2 separate regions of the Homo sapiens genome follow, and region 1 is linked to region 2. Evidence: promoter capture Hi-C in 16 types of primary human blood cells and fetal thymus (Javierre and others, 2016). All regions are on one chromosome and are shown on one strand. The core of a region is centred on a gene start or on the middle of the fragment in contact, and the rest is flanking DNA. Distances in the headings are between cores, read along the strand shown.

What was found. Contacts are between HindIII fragments. The CHiCAGO score rates a contact against its expected background, and 5 or more counts as called.
Region 1: a contact is called between a fragment that was not itself captured here and the fragment with the promoter of EIF1AY in region 2, in 2 of 17 cell types (naive CD4 T cells and neutrophils). The highest score is 5.8, in naive CD4 T cells.

What each region holds. Positions count from the first base shown.
Region 1 is chrY:21,138,470-21,141,388 of GRCh38, reverse strand. It overlaps LOC105377225 (a long non-coding RNA gene), which reads right to left and starts at 2,756. Exons shown (of 7, transcript XR_007068465.1): 1 at 2,521-2,756. The HindIII fragment of the contact is 2,520 bases long and covers 261-2,780 here.
Region 2 is chrY:20,574,155-20,577,239 of GRCh38, reverse strand. EIF1AY (eukaryotic translation initiation factor 1A Y-linked) reads right to left here and starts at 1,464. Exons shown (of 7, transcript NM_004681.4): 1 at 1,353-1,464. The coding sequence starts at 1,368. It overlaps TTTY10 (testis expressed transcript, Y-linked 10), which reads left to right and starts at 1,725. Exons shown (of 10, transcript NR_197944.1): 1 at 1,725-2,134. The HindIII fragment of the contact is 11,947 bases long and covers 1-3,085 here.

The DNA of each region.
Region 1 (2,919 bases), core at 271-2,770, 560 kb before region 2:
GACTGTCATTATCTAATGTGTATTGGGACCAGGCCATGTTACAGTAAAAGACTAAATGCTTCTGTCAAGTTTTGCAAGATTGTGAATGAGACAGTACAGTGGAGAGGGCTTAGGAATGTGGGATTGTTTGGTGAGAAAAACTAGAAAGATTTTTAGACAGGGCCTATTTCAGCAACTTTCTTCTGATATCAGGGGCTGCCTGAGTATTGAACCTGTTTTTTACTGAACTGGAAGACAGGGAAGTGTGTCTTACTAAAGCTTCTCTCAGTCTCTCCAAGAAGGCAGGTGGATTTCCATATATTTTCTGGTGCAACTCATACAGTTGAGAGTAATTAAGAGGTCTTGTTCTGCTTATTTCCAAGTCTTTTTAAATGTATATCAGAAATTCTTTTAATTTCCACTCATTTATGAGATCACTCAGGCTCCAATTAGGGCTTTTAAGGGAGCCTCATTTTTCTTACTATTGGGAATGGGGACCCTGTCTCTCCTTATCCTCTTTTATCCCTTAGATTTTTTCCTTTCAAGATTTTTAGACTGGCTATAGGAGTTACGCTGTTTATCTCCAAATGTTTCTGCTGCCTGCAAGACTGCCTGCTTTTCTGTAACAGTTAGGGTTTTGGCTTAAATGTAGCATAGCATCTCTCCATGTAACATGAAACATTTGGGTCAAATTTTGGAAAACCTCTCTATGTTTATTAGGGTCATCAGAGAACCTACCTAGTTCCCCCTTTATTTGTGTAAGTTCCTGCAATGAAAAGAAAACTTGAGGTGGTGATTAATAAGGGGCATTCTGAGATGGTTTCTTTAGAAATTGCTTTTCTAACTCTGCGGAATTATTCTCCATGGGACTACCTGCCATGACTGTTAAAAAAGCTGGGTTGATCTCATAATGCTTGTGAAGGTTTAGTAAAAAATGTCATGCTCTCGTGCAAAAGAAAATGGTCACCTTTTTCTTCAAAGTCATCGGGTCAAAGTAGTTCTAAAAGTTTCAGAGTGCACTCAGAGGGGTGCAGATTAAAGTTGGACTGTCACCTCTCTAGAAAAATAGACAAGAAAAGAGGCATCCCTCTGTCTCCTGCTTTTTTTCAGTGTGACCCAGGGAGGAGAAGAAGACAGTAGGAGTGTCCCACAGACTGTTATTTCTCCTTGGCTCCTGGGTCCCAGCATTGTGTTGAATATGCCACCAGTGGTTTCAAGTGTGACCTTCAAATGATGGTAGCAGAGGAGCTAAGCAATGGGGCAAGCCATGCTCACCCAAGTGGCTTTAGTCCTCTGATGGTGATTATTCTTTGACCTCGTAGACTTGGGTCTGGGTCACTCCTTGATGGATGGGTCTCAGGAAAGACTATGTGACAGTTGCATCTGGGCATCTGCTGGACTTCCCTCCTTAATGGAGGAAGTGTTTTAGTATTATCTTTGGTTTCCCTTGCTATGGCCCTAGTGAAACATTGAAACCCCAAAGAATGAGACTGATTCACTTTCAAACATAAAACCCATTTCTGGTGTAAATGCCAATGTAGCTGAATGTAGAACAGGTGCCTTAAAAGAACATATAAATGGAATGGCCGTCCTCTTACTGTTAAAGCTGGAGCTTTGCTGTTTTCAAATGGGGCATGAAGCCTAGTCTCTAATAGAGGGATATAAAAGGGAGATAACCAGAGTTTTTAGACAAAGGGCCAACAAGGCTCCCAGTGGGGAAAAATAAATCCCATTCCCCTACGTAGTGCTGTAGGGTCTGAAATATTAGGTAAAAACTGTGACTCCATCCTTTCAGGCAGAAGTTAGAAAAAGAGGTTTCAGTTTAATTGGCTGTTCCTATAATATTCCTCCCAGCACAAGAAAATTAACTTGTTTCATAAAGAATTGTTTAAATTTATTGGGCAATGCTGGGATTTTACATGGAGGGAAAAACCAACCCAAATGGGGAGGGAAAAACCAACCCAAATGTAGAGGGAAGAAACAATCCAAATGGAGAGAAAAGAGGATATTCACTTGGGGTGAAATATTTGACCATATAGTGTCATGAATGTCTATTATTGAGGGGTAGAAGAGACCTTACTAAGTGAATACTTAGACAGAAATCTTGAACTCCTCTGTCTCGAGGAAATCACAAAAACACAGTTTCTTGAAGTTACATTCCTGGTTACAAAAAAAGACACCAACTTACTCTACCAAGCAAGATTATATCTCTAGGCTGAAAAAACACCTGCAACATTGTATACAATGAAGAGATAGGTGACATAATAGCCATGGGAGAAAAGAAGGAAAATGTAAGAGGGAAGGTCCTTGTGCTGACACACTGGTGGGCTGTCAAGGATTGGAGTAGTCTTCAGATAACACTGAGGACCTTCAGATAACACTGAGGGTTAGTCCCAGCCAGAAATCTTGAATTTTCCTAGGACCTTCTTCCAATCCCACATGTTGGCTTAGGTCCTCTGTGAAAGGAAACTAGATTGGAATAGATGAGAAGACTCATAGATGAATGTAAATAGTTAAAGGTAAAAGTCGGCTCTTACTCACCCTTCTGATGAATTCCCTCCTTCCAAGCCAATGGATCAAAATATGTTGCATTCTTGCCAATGCACCTTAATTTGGAAGTTTCTTGTTGTCTGAAGAAGTACTCCAGGTTTTTTGTTCTTTATCCAAGACAAAAAAATTAAGAATTGTAAACACAAAGATAAAGTTGGAGTGAAAGTTTAATATGAAAAAAAAAAAAAAAAGCTCTCCACAGCAGAGAGGAGTCTGAGTGCATTGCTGGGTTACATCTGAATTCGAAAGCTTTTATAAGAAACTCCTCTCATGTCTGTAGCAGTTTGAGTAACTTCTCTTATCAGTAAACCTGTGTGTGCAACTCCCCTTATCTTATGTAGCTGTGGGTATGCCTCCAGGCAAGCACACAGTGCCACTTATTTTCCTTGT
Region 2 (3,085 bases), core at 215-2,714:
CTACCCTACAAGAATAAAGGAAGCCTTACTATTTAAGGATAGAGTCAGGTACAGGGATAATAACATCAGCAAAGATTTAATGGACATTTTGCAAAGGGAGATACTCTGATCTTTAGAGCTGATGGCTTAGAGAACTGGGAATCTCATCACTAGAAATAAAGGTGAGAACAAGATACCTACTGAAGTTGTTCAGTACCATCTGAGAAAATGTTAGTGAAAAAGCATAAGCCTTTGCTAACTCTTTCTAATTAGACTTCTCCCAGAATACACTTTATCCTCCAATAATTTTGCAGTAAAAAATAAAATAAAATAAAATAAAACCTTATTATACACACAACCCGTTAGTGGGTTTTCGGGAGAGCAAAGAGTAATGCCCAGGAAAGACTGCACTGTACTGTCACCAAGTACCTCAAGAGCTGTGTGTCGTGACAGCTAAAAAGAGAAAATGAAACAGATTCCATGCTGCCAACAGGCAAGTAAAAAGAAGACAAATTGGTCTGGGTCCCAGGAAGGAATAATCTAAACAGAGTTTTTGTGGACTATAAAACATGGTCCCCTCCTGTGGAAAATAATATTTTGTTTCCACCTACAGTTTTCTTCAAGCAATTACAAGGGCACTAAAAGTGAGAGATTACCTCAGGTGTATAAAAACGAGAATTTCTTTCAGAAATGACTGAGAAAGGGTTCTACCGAGGTTAGACCTCCTACTTTAGAAGCTGTGAGTAAACTTATTTTCAAGTCTAAGTTTCGTGTGAAAGTTTAGCCTCAGAATGAAGGGAACGTTGATATCTTTACTCCCACAATATTTATCGGATACGGAAGTTGAAAACCTGCCTAAATAGGTAACAAATCTTCTGCAAAAGAATGTTACACTCTATAAAGGGATGGGGTAGAGTAAAACGCCAGAAATGAACCTAAACATGCTTCAAGGCTTCCCCACTGTTTAACAAGGAAAAGGGAGTATCCTTAGCAATACTTTTAACTGTCCAGATAGGTAAGTCTTCAAAGTTAAGAACCGCTTCCAGGAAAGTAGCAGGGAAGTGTTTGCATGTGCCTATTCTGGAAAGCCAGGCCGTCCGGTTAAGGTCCCTCAACCGTCCCTACCTATACGTTTTCCGTCTGGCGTGAAATCAGCAGCAAAAGCCCGCTATCTTCCGAAGGAGGCCCCACAAAAATGGCGTCTGTCCCACCCCAATGTGACCAAATAGGGCATTCCCAGCTCCTTTCCCGAACACAGTGCTGGGGTCGCAGTGGCCAGTACCGCCGTTAGAACAGTCACTGCGGCCTGGAACAGGCGTCGGGGTTACTGGCAGAGCAAGCCGAGGTATAGTCCCAGAGGCTTACAGCAGTACCTTTATTCTTGGGCATGGCGGTGATGACAGCCTCGTGAGACCTCTTCCGACTCCTTTCTGGCGGTTACTACTCTAAGAGCCGACTGAACTAAGATGCAGCAGGTGGGTGCGCAGAAGAGGCTGGCTACAGAGCTCTCTAATAAACTGCTGACGCGCACTCTCTGGCGTCACCAAAAGGCGACGCAGCTGATTACGATGCTTTTCCCCGCCTCTCTTCGGCTGAGGCACGGCCAAATGACTGACACCTAGTAGACTCCATCAGGATACCGGAGAGTTTGCTGCAGGATGAATAAACAGGAAGCGGGGCGGGACTCAGCATGGAGAAGGTGGAGTCAAGGATGAAATGGGCGGGGCCCTGGAGTATTCTCCTTTGCTAAAAAACGGTCTTCCAGTTTCAGAAGTTCGTGGGTCATTTAACTGTAAACGCCTAAATTTTAAGAGAGCCCTTACTCTTATACAGTGAATTTGGAGGACTGGCTTAGGACAAGGCCCTCTATGTTCAGAATGTTTATCACTTTTCTCTCTTTTTTTTTTTTTTTTTTGACAACGAAGTTTCGCTCTTGTTGCCCATGCTGGAGTGCAGGGGCGCGATCTGCCCGTCTAATTTTTGTATTTTTAGTAGAGATGGGGTTTCACCATGTTGGCCAGGCTCTCAAACCCCTGACCTAGTGATCCTCCCGCCTCTGCCGCCCAAATTCCTGGGATTGCAGTAGTGAGCCACCGCGCCCGGCCTATTTTTTTCAGTCTTATCTTCTCTACCTCACCACCTCACAGTAAAGCATGTAAGTACAGAGGCCGCATCTGTTGCTTACAATTGCTAGCACCCAGCGGAATACTGACAAAAAGTAGACAGTAAATATATACAGGAAATGGAAAGTAAATATACATAGGAAGGAGTGAGACTAAGCATCTGAATCTTATAATAAATCATGGCTTAACCGAATGTCTCAAATGGACTGGCTGTGGAGGTCAAATTATTTCAAGACAAATTCCATTTGATTATGGTATACAATCATTTAATTTACTGGATTTGTTGTGTGTGTACTATTATGTTTAGAATCTTAGCATCTGTGTTAAGATATATTGGCTTGTATCGTGTGATGACTTTGACTTTAGGATCAATATAATCCCGGCTTCACAGAATGAACTGTGTAGTGTCCCTTTTTCTTCTGTGTTTTTGGACACATTCGAGGATTGATGTAAATTTTTTAAATGGTCCTAGGCCTTAGTTTGGATTATGAATTCGTGCTGTATTTATTCCCAAGTCAGTTCTGGTAGTTTGTATGTACCAGAAATTTGTTCATTTATTCTAAATTATAAAACTTGTTGGGCGTATAATTGGCCATCATATACAAAGTATAGTATCTTCCTAATCCTTTTTTTTCCCTTTCTGCAAGGTAAATAGTATGTATGTATCAGGACTTTGTTCATTTATTCTAAATTATCTTACTTGTTGGGCATATAATTGGCCATCATATACATAGTGTAGTATCCTCCTAATCCTTTTTTTTTCTTTCTTTTTTTCTGCAAGGTAAGTGGTAGTACCCTGATCATCACTACTGGTTTTAAGGAATTTAAGTCTTCATGGTTTTGTTTTTAAAAGCCTAGTGATGAAGCCATAACATTAAAAATAAAATTTTCTCTGAACCCAGAAGTCCTCTCCACAAAGACAGTAGAGAATGAAATCAGTTTTACTGTTAAAAATATGAAATATGAATTTAATGTACATTGTA